Regions from separate parts of the Homo sapiens genome. Here regions 1, 3 and 4 are each linked to region 2. The links are contacts of gene promoters, found by promoter capture Hi-C in blood cells and fetal thymus (Javierre and others, 2016). All regions are on one chromosome and are shown on one strand. The core of a region is centred on a gene start or on the middle of the fragment in contact, and the rest is flanking DNA. Distances in the headings are between cores, read along the strand shown.

Region 1 (2,977 bases), core at 402-2,901, 510 kb before region 2:
CAGAGCTGTGATAAACATATATATGCATGTGTCTTTATGGGAGAACAATTTATATTCCTTTGGGTATATACCCAATAATGGGGTTGCTGGATTGAATGGTAGTTCTGTTTTAAGGTCTTTGAGAAATCACCAAATTGCTTTCCACATAGTTGAACTAATTTACATTCCCACCAGTAGTGTATAAGCATTCTCTTTTCTTTGCAACCTCACCAACATCTGTTATTTTTTTGACATTTCAATAAGATCCATTCTAACTGGAGTGAGATGGTATCTCATTGTGGTTTTTATTTGCATTTCTCCAATGATTAGTTAACATGTTGATTTTAAATAGCTACTTCACTCAAAGACATTCAATATATTTTTATTTATTAGCCCATTTTTTAAACATTATTCTAAGAAGAAGAAACGGTTCATCACTACAACTTCACACTTGGGAAAACTGAGGCAAATTACTTGCACAAGTCCACATAATTATTTAGATGTAGATCCAGGACCACATCCTTAACTTTTAAACCCTTATCAAATTTTTTAAATTACTTGCACTGAAAACTGAGCCATGTTCATAGCTCAGAACATGAAAAAGAAGAAAATATTTTCTACTTCCTTAGGCATAGAAAAAAATAGATTTAGAAAGCAAGAATAACACTGAATCAGTGCAAATATAGTGTTAGTTTATCTGATCAACATCAACTTGAATACTTTTCCCACTATAACCTCACTCAATTTCTCTTCTGTCTCAGACATTTTACATTTTGATGACTATTCTACTTCTAGAAAATTTCAGACCTTTTTTTTTGCAATTCATTCACAAACATAAATGAGCTCCTACTTCCATTCTTCTTAGCCTATTTTATCACAGATCACTTCAAGAAATTAATAAAAGTTGTGAACCTGTTGCTCCTCAAAATGTTTACCTATAGAAATATTTGCATAAAATTTCGGGAGTTTGGTAAGCACCCTCCCTTCTCAATGTATTCTGAGAATGAACCCTTGTAATTCTGTGTGCCAGCCATTGATTATCTCAATTTCATTTTCTGACAACCCTGTATGGAAAATACTGTATGGAAAGTCCTCATAGTACAGTAGAGGTAACTGGGCCATATCAAGTAGCATACATAGGATTTGAATCAATTTATCTTGCCTCTTGTAGTATTTTTAACATATACAAAAGCCTTCAAAAGTCATCCACCTAAACTGGGAGGCTTCCCTTCAGCCTCATCCTTCCAATTAGCTTCTTCTGTGGGTTAACTGTTTTAACCATATTTCCACTCATCTGATAAAAATCAAGTCCAAGAAAGCTACAGGCTCCTCAGGATGCTCATAGAGTTATTATTTTATTAATTATTCTCTTGCTATGTGGTCTCTGAAAAGCCAGCTTTTTTTTATATATACTTTAAGTTCTAGGGTACATGTGCAGAACATGCAGGTTTGTTAACATATGTATACATGTGCCATGTTGATGTGCTGCACCCATTAACTCGTTATTTACATTAGGTATATCTCCTAATGCTATCCCTCCCCACTCCCCCCACCCCACAACAGGCCCTGGTGTGTGATGTTCCCCACCCTGTGTCTAAGTGTTTTCATTGTTCAATTCCCACCTATGAGTGAGAACATGTGGTGTTTGGTTTTCTGTCCTTGCGATAGTTTGCTGAGAATGATGGTTTCCAGCTTCATCCATGTCCCTACAAAGGACATGAACTCATTATTTTTTATGACCGCTTAGTATTCCATGGTGTATATGTGCCACATTTTCTTAACCCAGGCTATCATTGATGGACATTTGGGTTGGTTCCAAGTCTTTGCTATTGTGAATAGTGCCGCAGTAAACATATGTGTACATGTATCTTTATAGCAGCATGATTTATAATCCTTTGGGTATATACCCAGTAATGGGATGGCTGAGTCAAATGGTATTTCTAGTTCTAGATCCCTGAGGAACCACCACACTGTCTTCCGCGATGGCTGAACTAGTTTACAGTCCCACCAACAGTGTAAAAGCGTTCCTATTTCTCCACATCCTCTCCAGCACCTGTTGTTTCCTGACTTTTTAATGATCGCCATTCTAACTGGTGTGAGATGGTATCTCATTATGGTTTTGATTTGCATTTCTCTGATGGCCAGTGATGATGAGCATTTTTTCATGTATCTGTTGGCTGCGTAAATGTCTTCTTTTGAGAAGTGTCTGTTCATATCCTTTGTCCACTTTTTGATGAGGTTGTTTGATTTTTTCTTGTAAATTTGTTTAAGTTCTTTGTAGATTCTGGATATTAGCCCTTTGTCGAATGAGTAAATTGGAAAGGCAGCTTTTTAGAAAACCAGTGTAGCTTCTAGAGTCACTGGAAGCTGCTTTTTAAAGTTTCCAGTGAAGAATGGTCCCTTTGTCCATCTTCTATTTATAACAATCAGGCTGATTATTAATAGGATTGTCACTGGACTTGGCTTTCAAAGTTCTCAACCTTCTCCTTCTGTCTTGTGTACCTCCTTGGTGACAATGTATCCTCATCTCTAGACCATTTCTGTGCCTTTCATCCTCTCTCAATATTAAACAAAGGAAAAACTATATGATAGTCACATGGAGTTTTGGAATAACTAGCTACATGTAACTGAAAATCAGGCAGGTGAAAACAGTACCTCAGCCAATAATTTACCTTTTTGTAATATTTATATGTCTAAATATGAAATAAAAATTTCACCCTCTTGTACTTCTATGCATTAGCAATCAGCAGGCAGATGGACAAGAGTATTGTTGTTGGTTTGACTGATGGATCATTATAATGAGCAAGAGGGAGAGTGTGTTGAATTTATCTAATTCCCATTAGATGAATTAAGCATGGGCATATTCATGTTTTGCAGAGCCTGAAGCATAAACAATTTGGGGATCCTCTTTAAGAAAAATAGGTCAGGCGCGGTGGCTCACGCCTGTAATCCCAGCACTTTTGGAGGCTGAGGCAGGTGGATCATGAGATCAGGAGAT
Region 2 (2,969 bases), core at 384-2,883:
GCCGGAGGACAGACAGCCATGCGTGTCCTTGGCGGGAGAGCCCCCACCCGCCGCGCGCGCCCGACCCCCGCGCACACGCACACACTCCCCTCGCAGGCGTGGGGCCCAATGGCCACGAACATGTCAGGAAAACAAAGCTGGGGCTGCGAGGTGGAACGATGAAACGGCACACTTGGCGGCCGAGGGCAGAGCGGAGAAGTCGCCACCACAGCCACCGGCGCCCCTTTCTTGCCTGCTCGTAGATCTGCCCTCCGGCCCAGAAGAGGCCGAGGACCATTTCTTAGCTGCCCCAGAGGAGGGGGCGAGCAGAGGAGGGGGCGGATGTGCACAGGGAGGTGCCAGCGGTCCGGTGCGCGGGCACGCACACGCCGGCGCGCAGGGCTGCCGCGGGCGGAAGGAGGGGAATGACAAGGCCTCGGCCGCGTCTCGGAGAGGCACTACCTCCGCGCTGAGGCCGCTGAGTTTCAAGTGCAAAACACCAGGCCAAATCCGGCAAGGCGGCGGCTACAGAATGGCTCACACTTCAAGCCTCCTTCCTCAAACAATCCGATGGGAAGGACCTGGCTGTTCAGGGGAAGCCTTTGCTGGCCTCTCTTTTTACATGGGGTGAAGTCGAACCCCAATCTAGGAGCCCTGGCCTAGATGGCTCCGCAGATGAGTCCCAGACGTGGCCATGGAAAGACTGATCTCTCTCTGCTCAGAGCGCCTGCCTCGGTGCTCACTAGCGCAAGCACCTCCCAACACACATACATACATACACACACACACACAACACAGCACTCCCATCACATTAAAACGCGCGCTCATGATCCTGCCGTTAATGAAGCCGAGGCGCATAATGAGTGCACAGGTAAATAGGTACCGAAACCAGAAGACTTCACCAGTCGGCTGGGCGATTTACCTCTCCCTACAGGGAGCACTTGTAGTTATCGTGTTTTAGGAGTGATTTGCTGTTGTCTGTGGTCTCTCGCTCCTCTTCTTGTGGAGAGAAGCCAAAAAATATATATGTTCCGTGGTCAGAGTCTTCTTTCTGATAAGCTACCCGAGCATTGGTCTAAAACATCTGTTTTATCTGTTGATTTTGGTTTGTTGTTTTGGGGAGTGTTGCTTTTCTGAGGGAAGCAAAAGAACGTGTGTGTGGTGGGGCTGGAAGCTCAGGGCAAGAGTCTGCGTGTGCGGCCGGAAGGCTGGCGAGTCTGAGAGCCGCGCGGTGCAGAAAGAAGGCGGCGGCTTGTCCTCCCCCGGGGCCGGCACTGGTCCCTTGGCACCCCGGCCTGGGCTCGGCTACTGCCGCCGCCGCCCGCGCTCTCGGGCTCCGCCGGCTGCCGCTCCGTGTTTTCCCCCATCCCGGCTTCACGTTCAAGGTTTAGCTGCGAGGTCACGTCCATTGACGTCAGCTCCCTGTCTCCCTCTACGTCCGGCTACATTTACATACATCAAGGAAATTAGGGCATTAAAAAAATATGCAAATCCTGCGCGAAGAGGAGCGGGTGCATTCCTGGCGCGATCGCCTTTTATTGAAGCTTTTAATTAAAGGGGCCAGTTGGCGAGCCCCTGAAACAACCGCCAAAACCCCCCAAAAGAGAAAAATAAACGCTGTAGCCTTCGAGAACGGTTGTTTCGGCTCCTGTTCTGTGGGCGGCTGAGGACCGCCGGCTGCCCGGCTCGGAGAAGAACAGGTTAGAGGAGGCAGCTCCAGCCCATGCATAATCAGGGCTCCGCGGCGCCTCCATTCTTTCCTCCTCCTCCTCCTCCTCCTCCTCCTCCTCCTCCTCCTCCTCCTCCTCCTCCTCCTCCTCCTCCTCTTCCACCTCTCCTCCTCCTCCTCCTTCTCCTCCACCTCCTCCTCCTCTTCTTGCTCTCGCTCCTGTTGGTTCCAGCGTGTATTATTTTTAATACTGATGCATATGTAAAGGTATATTTGCATTTTTTAATTTGCGAGAATTTCAGATTTTGTCATTTTATTGGTTCCCTTTCCCTCTTTTTTTTTTTGGAGGATTTTTATTGTTGTTATTTTATTATGTCTATGTGTCTCTCTTGTCCCTTTCTGTCTTTTTTGGCGAGTGTCTGCTGCTGTCTCTTGCTAGATAATATACACAGTTACCTCCCTGCTTCTGTTTATTTAAGGTTACAAATATGCACATCTGTCATGTATGCAATGCCAGCTGTATAACCTCCTGGTTTGGTCATAAAGGAAAATACACATTTTTTTTTCTTTCTTGACATACCTTGATGGGCTGTAGTGCCCATCGCTCAAGGCTCAAAGTTTGATTGTCTAATTAACTTCATATTAGCAGAAACACAGTTCGGGGCCAGTGCTTTCGAGATAATGTATGTATAAGTGAAGTGATTCCAAAGATTTCTAAATAATTTTTGTGCTGATTGCCTGAGAGGTGCGGCATTCCCCGCCCTATTGCTTTCTAGCATTTCTTATTGAAAAAAATATATATATTTTAAAATGGGTAGACACAGCAATGGACAGCCTTCTGCAAGGAAGACATTTTCAACCATGTTGTATGTTGTACCTTATTGGCTGCATTCAAAATTTACTGAGTTTCATTTTTATCTTAATATGGCTGGAAACAAGGCACATTATCTTGACTGAAAAGCATCCTTGATTCCTGACTTTGAAATGAAAGCAAATACACAAATAAAACAATTGGCTATATTAAACCAGTTGATGTGGCTTAAAATATACAGGCCTTGAGTTAGATTTCAAGCAATGGTAATCTTGTTTATAGGATCGGATTCTCTTTCTTGGCAATATAGCTATGCAGCACGATGGCTTTTTTCCACCTTTTAATTCCCCCAAGCTATCATTTAAAAAAGACTCAATCTATAATTGCAAACCCTGAAAGAACAGCAAGTATGCACACATGCAGCTTATTCAATTAAACAAGTCCAAGTACATGCACAGGTAATTAGTTTTCTTATGAATGACTTACCTGCACAGATACTCAGGCCAAGAC
Region 3 (2,976 bases), core at 151-2,650, 540 kb before region 2:
TCAATCTCCTGACCTTGTGATCTGCCCGCCTCAGCCTCCCAAAGTGCTGGGATTACAGGTGTGAGCCACCGCACCCGGACAGTGATTTTCTTTTAATGGAAGAACTACTGTTAAGTCACTGGACTGATGAGCTTCACAGGGCCAACACTTCTTAGCTTGGACATGTTTACTAAACAAGTTAAGAGTGCATGCTCTAAATTACCTTGTTTGAATAGGGGCTGTAAATTAGGTTATTGTGAGGAAATGACCACTTTCTCAAAATCTTCAAAGTGCACCAGGAAACATGAAGCTTGGGTGTGTTATAATTAATTGGGAAAATGGTGGATGCCTCAATCATTGCAATTTGGCATGACTAATGAAAGAGTTCTATCACAGCAAAGTCTAGGGTTCATAAAGTGCTTCTTGCCGGGGGAATCTTAAATCATAAATAGCAACATGTTTAGTCCTCTGCCCTTTTATAAGAGATAAAATTGTGGTACAAATAAAGTAGGCTTTTTTCCAAGGTGGCACAGAACTTAACAAAGTGAAAATGTGGCATTTACATTCCTTGATTTATAACCTTTATAACGTTTACTTAAGAATGTATCCAAAGGAAATTCCTATTGTTTATTTTACCATTTGTTTAGTTGAATTGTTAATTAAAACTTTTTTCCAGTATCATTTGCCAGAGGGTGATGCTGATTATAAGAACTAAAACTAGGGATGACATGCACTCTCACATGTAGCAACTGGATACAATTTTAAGTTCAAAACACAGCCTATTCTAGCAAGAAGACTAGGATTAGACAATAGCACCCCTTGCATCCCAATACTGCCATCAGTCTTTACAGTTGGGATTGTCCTTTCTTGACTCTGAACCACACCCAAAAGGTCATCAATCTGTGAATGTTTATTTACACTTCTCCTTACCATCTTGCACGTTATTGACTCTTACAGCTGCCTTTGAAAGAGAGCTTTCAAATAGCCATGAGGAACTAGAGGTTTTTTAAATAAATAAATAAATAAGGCTCCAAATATCAACAAACAGTTGATATTTGACTTTGGAATTCAAGGGATACATTAATAAGTGCTTATGTACCCACAGGCTTCCTTACTCTGTGCCTGAACTCAGCACCCAATCTATGTACCCTAGCTATCAGCTTTTCAGGGTCCTGATGAGAAACAAACAAGAGGAAATCAAACACTTGAGTGTTGACAGTACAGTCCAGAATCTGGAATTACTGTGACTCCTTACAAGTGCTCAGAACTCCTTAATTGGTTATGTGAATTTGTCATCCTCTATCAAATGTATGGGGATACTGCCTGCAAGTAAACCTCCACTCAGACCTCAGAAAGCAAAGGTCAATCTTTCAAGGAGAATTTAGGAAATATTTAGAAACAAAGAATAATTCCACACTAGGAAAGTCATAGGTGCTCAAACAGTAAGAAATTTAAATCCTCCACTACATATATGTAAGTTCACACATGCTGGTCATCAGCTGGCATCTTTAGTGAGTATCTTCTATTGAACTCACTACAAGTAAGTAAGCTGAAGGGCAATTTCTGAAATACTGTGAACATGTGTGTTTTTCTATATAGTTGGCTGGGTAGGTTCTTACCTAGCTCTACACAGTATTTAACACCAGATTATAGATTAGCCTCTCAGGGGAAATAATGGTACACACTTATTATATGTAATATAATAGCCATTCACAGAAGATCCCCATTATACATGACAGCAATGAACCCAGTCCCTGGAATTAAGAAACTGTACATCAGGGCTGGGTGTGGTGGCTCACACCTGTAATCCCAGCACTTTGGGAGGCTGAGGCGGGCAGATCACAAGGTCAGGAGATCGAGACCATCCTGGCTAACATGGTGAAACCCCGTCTCTACTAAAAATACAAAAAATTAGCCGGGCTTAGTGGCAGGCACCTGTAGTCCCAGCTACTCAGGAGGCTGAGGCAGGAGAATGGCGTGAACCCAGGAGGCAGAATTTGCAGTGAGCCAAGATCGCACCAGTGCACTCCAGCCTGGGCGACAGAGCGAGACTCCATCTCAAAAAAATAAAATAAAAAAATTAAAAAAAAACTGTACATCAGAAACAACTCAAATGGCCTTCAACAACTTTTAAAAGGATAAACCATCTGTGGTACGTTCATGCAATGAAATACTACTCAGCAATCAAAAAGAGCAAACTGTTGATACACCCAACAACACAGATGAAGATCAAATCCATTATGCTAGTAAAAAGAAGCCACACAGAAGAAAGCTACATACTGTATGATTCTATTTATATGACATTCTGTAAAAGGCAAAACTACAGGAATGGAAAACAGATCAGTGGTTTCCAGGGTTACAGGATATTGGGAGGGATTGACTGCAAAGGGCAGCACAAAGAAGTTTTGGGGGATGATGAAATTCTGTTTCTTGCTTGTGGTCGTGATTACATTACACACTGGTAAAACTCAAAGAATTTATATCCCTGAAAAAGTGAATTGTACTGTATTTAACCTAAATATCAAAAGTTCAAAAGCTTCACATAGTTTATATTTCTCATTCTCATGTATTCAAGAAGAAGAATTGTCTTTCAAATATTCCTACTAAACTCCTGCTTATCACTTTCAAGAACTTAGCTTCAAAGTTAGCTCTTCTGTAAAGCCTTCCCATACCTCTCTATGTTCTGGCTTCTTTCTAAGATTTTTTTAAGGAAATAAACATTACTCATATAGCCAATATCCATGTGGATAAAGGCTCCTTCTCTTCCAGGGGTCTCCCCCATGCTGGAGTTCGCACGCATTCTTCCCCAACATGCTTTTATACTTTTATTACATAGTTACGTACCAACAAATTGTTATGGGAAGGATAATTTTACGTTAATAGATATTAATATTGCATCAATATCACATTTTTTTTGAGACGGAGTCTTGCTCTGTTGCCCCGGCTAGAATGCAGCGATCTCGGCTAACTGCAACCTCCGCCTCCAGGGTTCAAGCA
Region 4 (3,195 bases), core at 452-2,951, 770 kb before region 2:
TGATTCTTATATACATTCTCCATTTTAAAAATCATTATTATTCTATGCTATGTTTTAACATTTGGGAAAGCAAGCCCCCACTACTATTACTTTTCATGTCACGTATTAATCTTTTAGATGAACTTATCTGAAGAATTTCAGAATTAATTCTGAAAGAGATGAACATTTATTCTTCTAAAATCATCTTTTATTATCTTTGAGCACTTCAAATGACACTTCTATATTTGTACCTTACACAAAGGATAAAGACAGTAAATATAAAATATCACCTACATTTATTCCAAGTACATGCTAAACACATTCACATACAACGTAGCTTACTTAACCCTCAGTTACTCTGTGAAGATAGGATTAATTATCCAAATTTACACAAGAAATTTTAAGACTCAGTGGTTTTGTTTTATACAGCACTGTAGCAAAAACACAGGTAAAATTATTCCAAGCTTAATGTTCCTTTCATAATATCACATTTTGTACCTTACTTGAAAAAATGAAACCCTTAATTTTATAGGCTACTATTTTATTTACAATGTATGTAGCAAAAATTATATTTTATGTAATCAGTGTGTATTTTTCTTTTTTATTTATTATCTTGATGAGATATTTTGAAATGAAGTGTGTCAGAAAAGAATACGTGGAGACCCTAAAGACAATCACATAAACTATGGTTTACTTTCAAGCCACAGTGAAGTTTCAGGAAAGTCACTTGGTTTTAATTTGCTTATCGTAAATAATATCTGTCCTTCATCTTCTAAAAACTAATGACAATTAAAGACCTACATTTTTTTTTGCTAGTTGAGTACATGCATACAATGCACCGGAATGAAATTCCATATTAATACTCAACAATTAAATGTGTGTGAAATATTGTAGTCTAATGGAAAAATCCTATTGTTTTCATTCGCTTCCAGTTAAATTCACAGCTATGCTAGAAATCCATATCTAATCTAATCTTTCAGTAGTCCCATTTCTGCATCGAATTAAGTTAAATTTTTAGATTGTTCTCAAATATTGGGATAAATTGGGATTTTTTTTGGTTGCAAGTGATGGAAACATAATTTAAGAAAACTTAAGGAAAATGTGGTGGCTCATTTAACTGAGTAAGATAGAGATATCTGAATTAAGGCACAATTTGATACAGATGTCAAAAAAATTATTGCCACAAACTTCTTTCTTTGCACATCTTTCTAGAAGCCTCTATGTTGGTTTATTTATCTAGAAAGTGTCAGAAAAATGAGAATGATCTGAGATTTACCTTGCTTGTAAGTTAGCAAGTTAACCTGCCTCAGTTATATAAATGCTGACAGAAAACATGAGACTGCTGGACCAGAGGCAAAGGTATATTTCTGTGAATCCCTCTAATCCGTAAATATCATGAGGGGATACAGAAAAGCCTAGGTGCATGCCTGCCCAGGTAGTAGGTTGTGTTGCAGTAGAGGAAATCTGAGCTTAGAGAGCCTGAATCTTTTCTGATGCGCAGTAGGCATTCCTTTCCTTTGTTCTGGATCTCTTTCTCTCTTCCCAAGGCTATTTACTGAGCAAGCATATTTTTAAGTATAGTCTGGAACCAAAGGCAGTTCATACTTTATACACAAGATGGACAGAAATGTGAGAAACCCATTGAGAACTGTATACAAACAGAAGGCTTTTTCCATAAGGGGGCAAAGAAGACCACCACTTACATTCTACTGTCTGAGCAATCTCAGCAGAAAGAAAAAAAATGTGCTTTTTCTCAAAAGTCCTGCATAATATGCATATCCTTGGACCACTGTAATTCTGACTGATCAGGCCAGGAATTGTGGTCCTCTTTAAAGCAGAATGGTCAGATCAACCTCTCAACAAACACATACGTTTAGAGTTGGAAAGAGCTGGCTGCCCAAAGAAATATTTGGGTATTTTTAACAGACGAGTACTCCACATCAGTATTCCCTTCTGTACTGTTAACAGAAGGGAGTATCAATATGAAGGAAAGAAAATGCAGAAAAGGTCTATATCATCGACCCTTTTCCTCTCTAACTTTGTGCTCAATATTCTCTCTGCTTTTGTGTACTATCTTTCTCTTTCATCTCTATGTGTCCATATCCTTGACATCCTACAAACCCATGTCCATGTGCACACTCCAGTATGAAGACTACAATTTTCTCTTTACAGCTAGAAAGTCCTTCTCTGGATTCACTTAGTATATCTCTTCCTCAATTTTACTGGGACATTTTGCTTTCTATCTTGTATTACAGAAATCTCTTTAAATGTCTTAACTTTCCCCACTAGACTGGGATCTCCTACCAAGGTCATGTCTCTGCCTCTCTGTATCCCTTATGAGTCAATGCGTATTACTGGTGATTAATATATGTGTACTGAATAAAGGGAAGGATATTTAATTAAATTTTCATCTCTTATATATCTTGACTAACAATGATGGAACAATTATGAGGCCAGGAGTCCAGAGACATTGCTTTATTTTCTATTTTTACTATACACTGGTTGGTCACCTTAAGCAAATCTATAAACCTGTCTGAGGCTCAATTCCTTCATTTGTAAAAAGGTGACACTATGTGCTCTTCCTAATATGGTTATTGAGATAATCACATGAGGAAATGCACATGAAATTACTTTAGAAATGTAAACCACTCTAATAATTAATGAATTTCATTTTCAAATAACAAGTGAGCCATTTCTGTTATATGAATTCAATGTGTTTAATATTAGCAGAATAGTTATACAAAAGTAAGTAGATGTAATTTGAGAAATGCTTGGGAAAAAAATCTGTCTGTGCAAAAATATATTTCTTGTTATCTCTAATTCCTCCATCTCCTTTAAATTTATCTGAATTAATTTTAGGAATGCTTATCTCCAAAACTTCCCATAAAAAAGAAAGTTATCAATAATACATTAAGCCATTATCTGTTAATAAAACTATTGTATTATTTTAACTGGCTATGAAGCAAAGGGATATATGCAAGTAAGCTTTAAATGGAAGAGGGACATAATTAGAAAGTAAAACCTTGGCATAAGTGTGCCTGGAAGGTAACGGGAAAAGGAACATACTGACAAAAAGGAAAAACATTTAAGGAACAATAGAAATATTGCCAAATGAAGAAAATTGCCTAATTCATAGCTTTGCCCTGAACTGGTCTTATCAAACAGATCAATTTTCTATATATCTATTTTTTTTAACTCACAATTTCTCCCTTTAAA

What was found. The method cuts DNA at HindIII sites, captures the fragments that hold promoters and counts their contacts. A CHiCAGO score of 5 or more calls a contact.
Region 1: a contact is called between a fragment that was not itself captured here and the fragment with the promoter of MEF2C-AS2 in region 2, in 1 of 17 cell types (megakaryocytes). The highest score is 5.3, in megakaryocytes.
Region 3: a contact is called between a fragment that was not itself captured here and the fragment with the promoter of MEF2C-AS2 in region 2, in 11 of 17 cell types (endothelial precursors, megakaryocytes, erythroblasts and 8 more). The highest score is 14.6, in endothelial precursors.
Region 4: a contact is called between a fragment that was not itself captured here and the fragment with the promoter of MEF2C-AS2 in region 2, in 1 of 17 cell types (activated CD4 T cells). The highest score is 5.5, in activated CD4 T cells.

What each region holds. Positions count from the first base shown.
Region 1 is chr5:88,162,466-88,165,442 of GRCh38, forward strand. No RefSeq gene overlaps it. Among named protein-coding and RNA genes, the nearest start is that of TMEM161B, 100 kb to the right of the region's middle. The HindIII fragment of the contact is 4,402 bases long and covers 1-2,977 here.
Region 2 is chr5:88,674,585-88,677,553 of GRCh38, forward strand. MEF2C-AS2 (MEF2C antisense RNA 2) reads left to right here and starts at 1,634. Exons shown (of 4, transcript NR_146284.1): 1 at 1,634-1,679. All of the region lies in intron 1 of MIR9-2HG (MIR9-2 host gene), which reads right to left. RefSeq lists enhancers at 606-705, 1,143-1,708. The HindIII fragment of the contact is 5,913 bases long and covers 1,522-2,969 here.
Region 3 is chr5:88,136,857-88,139,832 of GRCh38, forward strand. No RefSeq gene overlaps it. Among named protein-coding and RNA genes, the nearest start is that of TMEM161B, 130 kb to the right of the region's middle. The HindIII fragment of the contact is 2,226 bases long and covers 288-2,513 here.
Region 4 is chr5:87,908,085-87,911,279 of GRCh38, forward strand. No RefSeq gene overlaps it. Among named protein-coding and RNA genes, the nearest start is that of LINC02144, 180 kb to the left of the region's middle. The HindIII fragment of the contact is 2,521 bases long and covers 442-2,962 here.